Regions from separate parts of the Homo sapiens genome. Here regions 1 and 2 are each linked to region 3. Evidence: promoter capture Hi-C in human tissues and cell types (Jung and others, 2019). All regions are on one chromosome and are shown on one strand. The core of a region is centred on a gene start or on the middle of the fragment in contact, and the rest is flanking DNA. Distances in the headings are between cores, read along the strand shown.

Region 1 (2,855 bases), core at 57-2,556, 420 kb before region 3:
TATAGATTTGTGGTCTTTAATGTTTCCCAAATGAAGAGAGATAAACAATTGCACAGACAGAGGGGTGTCTATAATGTAAATCTGTGGAGAACCGCCTGGAAGGAAATGTGCCAACAGCGTAAGCCAGTTCCCTCGTGGCGGTGGCATTATGAGTGATTATTTTTCTTTTTATTTAATATCTCTAATTGTCTATAGTAAGCATGCCAGTTACATAAGTAACAGAAGTCAAGAGCAAAGCATTTTCATCCTCCATGTCCCCCACTCAGCCCTCCCACTCCTTCTGCACTTTTATTTATTTTTTATTTTTTTATTTGAGACGGAGCCTCACTCTGTCGCCCAGGCTGGAGTGTAGTGGCGCGATCTTAGCTCCCTGTAACCTCCACCTCCCGGGTTCAAGCGATTCTCCTGCCTCAGCCTCTTGAGCAGCTGTGACTACAGGTGCGACCACGCCCAGCTAATTTTTGTATTTTTAGTAGAGATGGGGTTTCACCATGTTGGCCGGGCTGGTCACAAACTCCTGACTTCAGGTGATCCGCCTGCCTTGGCCTCCCAAAGTGCTGGGATTACAGGCTTAAGCAACCGCGCCCAGCTCTCCTCTGCTTTTGACCATTTGTTGTAAATAGTTTGAAATCTTTTCTTTGAATCCGTGTATTGGTTTTGAAACCTACATGTCCGATCAGATAAATAATATGGGGAGGGAAGAAGAAAACATAATGCTCTCTGACAATGAATCATAACATCATAGAAAATTAGAACCTTAGGCCAGGCGCAATGGCTCACGCCTGTAATCCCAGCACTTTGGGAGGCCAAGGTGGGCAGATCACGAGGTCAGGAGATCGAGACCATCCTGGCTAATACGGTGAAACCTCGTCTCTACTAAAAATACCAAAAAATTAGCCGGGCATGGTGGCGGGTGCCTGTAGTTCCAGCTACTCGGGAGGCTGAGGCAGCAGAATGGTGTGAACCCAGGAGATTGCATTGAGCGGAGATCGTTGCCACTGCACTCCAGCCTGGGTGACAGAGTGAGACTCTGTCTCAAAAAAAAAAAAAAAAGAAAATTAGAAACCTAGACTTTTTTTTTTTTTTGCAAAGCAAATCTCTCTTTTTACAGGCAAGGAAGCTGGGCTAAGTGAGGGAGGCTGGGAGAGCTGTCAAGCGGCTGCATTGCGGTTTGTGTGGGGGCAGAGCTGGGGCTGCTTCCCCTCTCGGGCTCTGGGAGCGCTGAGGAGGGGGAGGCTGGGCTGGAGGGAGGCCAGGAGGATGCTCCGGGCTGGGTGGGGTGGAGCTGGCTGAGGAGTCTTCTGCCTGTTTGTGCTGGGTACTGGGAGATGCAGGCGGGGAGACACAAGGTAGAAGGGGCAAAGTCCTCACCTAGGACCTTGAGGGAGTTAATGTGTAATATTCTAGGATATAAGCTTGACCACGAGTTGAGACCCTGAGCACAGGCCTCCAGGAGCCGCTGGGAGCTGCCGCCAGGAGCTGTCACCATGACGGTGAGGACACTAGCCCCCTGCTGCCTGCCCCACTCTGTTCATCTTTGTCTTTGCCTGGGTGGGGGCTTTTAGGGAAAACCATTGCTGTCCCTCTCTGGGCCTCAGTTTCCCCATCTGTGCAGCAAAGAAGTTGGACAGAGGTCTTTTTTTAAAAAACAGCATCTTGGGCCAGGCGTGGTGGCTCCTGCTTGTAATCCCAGCACTTTGGGAGGCCGAGGCTGGTGGATCATCTGAGGTTGGGAGTTTGAGACCAGCCTGACCAACATGGAGAAACCCCGTCTCTACTAAAAAAATACAAAATTGGCTAGGCCTGGTGGCACATGCCTGTAATCCCAGCTAATGGGGAGGCTGAGGCAGGAGAATCACTTGGACCTGGGAGGCAGAGGTTATGGTGAGCCGAGATTGTGCCATTGCACTCCAGCCTGGGCAACAAGAGTGAGACTCCATCTCAAAACAACAACAACAATACAGCATCTTGCTCTGTCACCAGGTGGAGTGCAGTGGTGGCAATCATAACTCACTACGGACTTGACCTCCTTGGCTTAAATGATCCTCCCACCTCAGCCTCTTGAGTAGCTGGGACCCCAGGCACTCACTACCACACTGGCTAATTTTGTTTGTTTCTTTTCTTTCTCTTTTTTTTTTTTTTTTTGAGATGGAGTCTCGCTCTGTTGCCCAGGCTGGAGTGCAGTGGCCCGATCTCAGCTCACTGCAACCTCTGCTGCCTGGGTTCAAGCAATTCTCTGGTCTCAGCCTCCCAAGTAGCTGGGATTACAGGTATGTGTCACCACACCTGGCTAATTTTTTTTTTTTTGTTGAGATGGAGTTTCTGTTGCCCAGGCTGGAGTGCAATGGCACGATCTCGGCTCACCACAACTTCCACCTCCCAGGTTCAAGCGATTCTCCTGCCTCAGCCTCCTGAGTAGCAGGGATTACAGGCATGGGCCACCACACCCGATTAATTTTGTATTTTTAGTAGAGATGGGGTTTCTCCATGTTGGTCAGGCTGGTCTTGAACTCCTGATCTCAGGTGATCCACCTGCCTTGGCCTCCCAAAGTGCTGGGATTACAGGTGTGAGCCACTGCTCCTGGCCTAATTTTTGTATTTTTAAAGTAGAGACAGGGTTTCACCATGTTGGTCAGGCTGATCTCGAACTCCTGACCTCAGGTGATCCGCCCACCTTGGCCTCCCAAAGTGCTGGGATTACAGGTGTGAGCCACCCCACCCAGCTTATTTCTTATTTTTCGTAGAGATGAGGTCTCACTATGTTGCTCAGGCTGATATCAAACTCCTGGGTTCAAGGGATCCTCCTGCCTTGGCCTCTCGAAGTGCTGAGATTACAGGTGTGAGCCACTGTGCCT
Region 2 (2,700 bases), core at 201-2,700, 480 kb before region 3:
GAGTGGTGGGGGGGGGGGGGAGAGTGCTTCTGCTGAGCCTGCCTGGGTTAGAACGCCCCCTACTTCCCTTCCCCGCAGCAGGGCACCTGGACCCCAGTGCTTCCACTGTCCCTCCCAGCTGAGGCCTGCCCTGGGTGGCCCAGTTGCTTCATCCCAGTCGGAGCACATTCCATGGGGGTGGGAATAGGATACATGGGTTTTTCCTCCTCCACCCAGGGCTGTGTCCTGAGAGAGGGCGGACAGATGAAACTAAAGGGGAGGCTGAGAGACCCACCCGGGGCCCAGCTTTGGGACACAGAAGCCTCTTTTCTGCCCACTCCCAAATCCTCAGCCCACCCCGGGATGAGGAGTATTAGCTGGCCCCAAGAACGGGAAGTGCAGGAGCTCAGACTCCTAGGCACAGTCACACAGCACTCTGGACTACAGCTGTGGGCAGGGGTGCACAGGCCCTTGGCCCCCACCTGGGGACACATGGGGGATGCCAAGGCCCACTGCAAGGTGGTCTGACTGTCCAGGCTATGTAGGCATCTGTGCCAGTGTGAGACTAGAACCAGGTCTCTGGACACCCAGTCCCCTCCCTGGACCCAGAGAATGGGGAACTCCTGAGGCTGGGGGAAGAGGAGCAGAGAAGACAGGCTCTGAGAGGCTCCCCAAACTTCCGGCCTCCGTGCCACCGGCTCAGAGGCTGGGGGTGGGAGCTGGGAGACCTGGGGATATTTCCACCTGAGTCCAGGAAAAGCAGAAACGAGACAGAAGCAGGAGGCCCCTGGGCTGGGGGGAGGGGGAGGGGGAGGGACGCTGCAGGCCAGGGGCAGGCCCCTCCTCCCACCAGGCCAGGACCCATCTCCTCCCCTCGCCCCAGGTCTGTGGCCCTAATCGACCCTCCTCCCTCCCCGGCCCAGCAAGCAGAGGTGGTGAACTGTCCCATTGTCCAGAGGGGACAAGTGAGGTCAGGAGGACCATCCACTTAGAGACTCGTGGAGGCAGAGAAGTCCCAGCGTCCTAGGGCAGAGAGCATTCTCCCGCCTGAAGCCCCCTCCAATCCGGTAAGGGGGGGCATCCCTTCCCCCAAAGGCCACCCTTGCTCCTCCAGCTCTGCCCGAGAGACGGGGGCGGCGTTCAGAGAGGAGGAAGAGAGAGCAGGAGTCTGGCCGCTCAGAGGGTGGCTGCCCAGCTGTCCCCAGCCTCCCCCACCCCCGTCTCCCCCGACCCTTTTACGACCCCTCAAGTCCTGCCGGGGTAAGAGTGGGGCTGGAAGCGGGTGACACTCACCGTCCCAAGCTGCCCGTCTGGGCCAGCTGCCGCATGCGGTGCAGCTGCCTCTTCATCATCTTGGGGGCGAGCTGGGGGCTGCGGGGTCACGGCGGGGGTCGCGGGCCCGGGGAGCCCCCGGTCCAGCCTGCCTCTCCTGCGGCGCGGCTCTTGCCCCGGATGGGTGGGCGGCGCTCTCGCTTCCTGGGCCGCCGCGCGGCTCTTGCTGGCGGCCGGCTCTCTCCTCCCCCGCTCACGACTCCGCCCCCGGCCCCCAGGTCACTCCTCTCTCCAAGTTGGTTTCCTCGCTCTTCCCCGGCTTCCGGGCCCCCGGGCGACCCCCGGCCGGGCCCCCGCTGCTGTGTGTCCGCCGGCCGCGGCCGTCCACAGGTTGTGCCCGGCTCCTCCTCCCCGCAGCGCCCCGCCCAGCCCCGGTGGCGGGAAGCAGGTAAGCCCATTCCTGCCCCTGCGCCCGCAACCCGCCCCAGGCGGGGTGCCTGCCCCACCCGCAGCCTGCAGACCCGAAGTATAAATAACCTTTGCATCCCTCGCAAAGAGGAAAGGGTACCAAGCGAAAGAGGGGTAGGCCTTTCTGACCTGTCCTGGCCTCTCTGGGCCTGCCGCGGATACTGCCTTGCACTCTCTTCCGCAGAGGACCTCTGGCCCCCTGGAACTAAACCCCCCACCACTGGATGACTGGCTGGGAGCTTTGGCTTCCTGGGGCCACGGGCTGCTGTGTGGCCGTGGACAAGCCCCTGGAACTCCGGACTCGCTGTTTCTAATGGTCTGATGGGCCAGCTGTCCTGGGCCTGCCCATTCTGCAGAGTGGACAAGACACCCCTGCCAGCTCCCTTTAAGGGAGGTGCGTGCCACCCCTCAGCCACCAGGAACCCTCCCAGAGCGGTTCGCGACACCCTGTTCTCCACATCTCCTGGCAGTTTGCTCCATCTGTGAAGCCCGTCTCCTCTCATTCCTCCTGGCAAACAGCCTCAGTCCCCCTTCCTTCTTGTAGGGCAATGATGTAGGTGCTGCTCTGACTGCCCCCAAACTCAGTAGTTCTCCTCTTTGGCCCTCCACTCAACACAGAGTTAGGCATACAGTAAGTGCTCCATAACTGCTGGTTTTACAAGATGTGAGCGCCTTTAGGAAACAGTAGGCTCTCCTTACCCTGCACCCCTGTGGCATCAGGAGCCGCAGGCGTGGGGAAGAGGGGAGGGTGTGCCCCAGAGTCCTGCCACACCCTCTGCACTTTGCTTTGTTAGTTTCAGTTTAGTTTGAGACTATTTGAGCCACTACTGTGTGCCGGTGCAGACTGTGTGCCGGTGCAGACTGGGCGCCTCTCAGAGGCAGGACCTTGGCCCCACACATCTCCATACTCCCAGCACCTAGCCCAGGGCCTGGCACACTCACTGGCTGCTTCTCTCCTCCCTAATGAGGCAGGACTCATTG
Region 3 (2,869 bases), core at 1-2,500:
TATTTTTTTTAGACGGAGTCTTGCTCAGTCACCCAGGCTCGAGTGCGGTTGCGCAATCTTGGCTCACTGCAACCTCTGCCTCCCGGGTTCAAGTGATTCTTCTGCCTCAGCCTCCTGAATAGCTGGGACTACGGGGTGCCCACCACCACGCCCGGCTAATTTTTTTTTAATTTTTATTTTTGGTAGAGACGTGGTTTTGCCATGTTGGCCAGGCTGGTCTCGATCTCCTGACCTCGTGATCCGCCCGCCTCAGCCTGCCAAAGTGCTGGGATTACAGACATAAGCCACCGCGCCCAGCCCTCCCCTTCCTATCTTGGCATAGCTACGTGGCATTCCACTGGATGGAAGTTCCCTAATTTGCTCATCACCTGTCCCCTATGGATGCGCATTTTGTTGGCCTCGGGTCCCGTGACTGCAGGAGTTACTTTGTACACACGTGTTCAACATGGGTCACTCTGTTGATGAGTTTTAGGTGTGGAATTGCTGGGTCATGTGTCAGAGATGTTGGTAGATGTCAGATTGCCTTCCAGGGAGATGCTTGAAGCCCACGCCAGCAGGGTGACTCGCCTTTTCAACCTGCCTTTGATGGCAAAGCTTTTGAAACTTCAAATATGCTATCCTGGTGTTTTTAATGTGTATTCTCAGGACTCTTCAGGGTATTAGGGACTTAGCACTTTTGATTCTTTCTCTTTTCCTTTTTTCCTTCCTTCCCCTCATATTGACACTGTCCGTATGTCAGGTAATTTTCTGGGTTCTGGAGTGGTGTGGATGAATCCCACACTGTTCCTGTTGTCCAAGAGCTCCTGGTGTAGACTCATAAGCAAGGCTCTGACATGAGATATGGTAACTGGCTTGTGCCCAGAATCTGCCTTGGCCAGAATTGGAGATCAGGGAAGGACTGGTTTTAAATCGGGGAGCTGATTAGTCTGAGTAAGTAGGGTGGGAATATGGTGACCAACTTTGTCCTAGGAATATCACTGTAAATCTTATGTTCTGGAAACCCCCCTCAGTCCCAGGCACAGTGGGACAGCTGGTCACCTTGGCGCGATCCTGGTAAGGAATGGCATGGTTTGCACAAGATAGGAGCTGCTCAGGGCGCTGGTGCTGGTGTGGCTATGAAGCAGGCAGCTCCCGGATGAACAGGGAAGAACGTGGGGCTTCAGGTCTGGAGCCTGGGGGGCTGGCGTGGAGGTGGCTGCTGTGGCAAAGCAGAAGTAAGGGTGATGGCTTGGAAGGAGGGGGTGAGGGAGGGAAGGAGTCAGGGAGAATGGCCACAGTCTGTCTTGGGGACTGGTGGGTGGGGCGCCTCCAGTGAAGAGCAGGTGTCAGCAGAGGGGCATGCTCGGAGGACAGCCCTCAGGAAGTCGGCCGCTAGCCTGCTCTTTCTCCTTGTTCTGCTCTGGCCCCTCTGTGGGCCCCTGCAGCTTTGTGATCCTCATTTGTCATGAGGGGTACCCCACAGTCTGATGGGGACTGGGCGGAGGGTCAGACACCAAATTATGTATACCATAGTCCTCCTGACCAGGGACCAGGACTCAAAACCAGGTCACTGGTGAGGCCTGGCACTGTGGGGGCAGGACTTTTTTTCCAGCTGGGGACTCGGCTACCTGCTGACTTTCCAGAAGACAGGTCACAGCACCGAGCAGGGGTGGGCGGAACACAAGGACTTGAGGGTGGGTGACAGTGTCAGCTGGCTGAGCCAGGGAGGGCAGGAAGGGAGGTGGCCCTGGAGATACTGGAGGTCTTCACAATGGCAGAGGACAGGCGGTGGCAGAGACAGTGAATGGCACCCCCAAACCTGCTCTCCCCTGCCCGTGTGCCCTCTACTTATAGCTGGCTACATCTCCCAGCCTCCTCTGCAGCTTGGTTGGCTATGTGACTCAGGCGTAGCCAATGGGATGTACATTAGAAGTGGCTACGGCAGCTTTGGGGAAGGGTCCTTAACAGGCAGAGGCAAGCCCTCCCTCTCTCCTTCCTTTCCCTTCCATCTGCAGGAACGCAGAGGTGATGGGTGGAGCTTGAATAGCTCTCTTGGTCTATGAGGAGATGGGAGAAGGATATTGAAGAGACCCTAGTAGCAAGCCAGATTTAGCTCAGGATCCTGACATCATAAAGCCACCCCACCTAGCCTGGGTGGCCTCCCTTTGGACTTCTTTTATGTAAGAGAGAAATAAAGCCCTCTCTTATTTTAGGTCACTGTTTTCTTCTTCTGTTCTCTTTGGACACACGCAGCTGAACTTCATCCTAACTGGGACACTGTTGTACAGTGGAGGCGGTGATGGCAGCACGCGGGTGAGCTGAGGTGGAAGTTCAAGGGGTCTTGGTTAACACAGGTCAGAATGATGGCAGGGTGCAAGTGCAGGCCTGGGTGTGGGACTGGTATGGAGCAGTTCAGAGGGAACAGGAGGCTGGAGGCTACAGTGTGGACCCTGACATCTCCTGGGAGGCGGAGTGGAGAGGGAGGCTGAGCGCAAGGGCCAAGCACTCCAGTGAGCAGAGGGAGGACGGGTAGGGCGTTTGGCAGATACCAGGACTGAGGAGGATGCAGTCTGGCTTGGCCCCAAAAAAGACAGCCCAAGGACATCAGGGCTGGAAGACCCCAATATGCCCTTGTCCCATGGCCCCTGTGAAAGAGGGGTCTGGGTCCAGTGGTGGGAGGGCTGTGGGACTGGGTGCATGGAAACAGAGGGTATGAGGCGGTTTGTTCCCAGTGGGACCCATGAAGATGCAGCGCAGAGGGTCAGGTGGGGATGTGGAAGACGTAAGAGAAGTAGTTATAGGAGCAAGGCGTGGAGCTCGTGGAGGAGGCTGGGTCCAAACCCCAGCACTCCTGAGACCCAGGTCTGGGTAGGCCCGAGTGGGCTCTGTC

The links. The method cuts DNA at HindIII sites, captures the fragments that hold promoters and counts their contacts. A contact is called where the count stands out against the background at its distance.
Region 1: the fragment with the promoter of LGALS2 here is called in contact with a fragment that was not itself captured in region 3 in 1 of the 25 tissues and cell types used here (dorsolateral prefrontal cortex).
Region 2: the fragment with the promoter of SH3BP1 here is called in contact with a fragment that was not itself captured in region 3 in 1 of the 25 tissues and cell types used here (spleen).

What each region holds. Positions count from the first base shown.
Region 1 is chr22:37,578,538-37,581,392 of GRCh38, reverse strand. It overlaps LGALS2 (galectin 2), which reads left to right and starts at 1,306. Exons shown (of 4, transcript NM_006498.3): 1 at 1,306-1,493. The coding sequence starts at 1,488. RefSeq lists a silencer at 920-979. The HindIII fragment of the contact is 22,309 bases long and covers 1-2,855 here.
Region 2 is chr22:37,638,419-37,641,118 of GRCh38, reverse strand. It overlaps SH3BP1 (SH3 domain binding protein 1), which reads right to left and starts at 1,450. Exons shown (of 18, transcript NM_018957.6): 1 at 1,273-1,450. The coding sequence starts at 1,331. RefSeq lists silencers at 1,233-1,672, 1,703-1,852, 2,483-2,700. The HindIII fragment of the contact is 22,988 bases long and covers 1-2,700 here.
Region 3 is chr22:37,155,698-37,158,566 of GRCh38, reverse strand. It overlaps a transcript of IL2RB not described here. Among named protein-coding and RNA genes, the nearest start is that of IL2RB, 7.2 kb to the right of the region's middle. The HindIII fragment of the contact is 5,288 bases long and covers 1-2,869 here.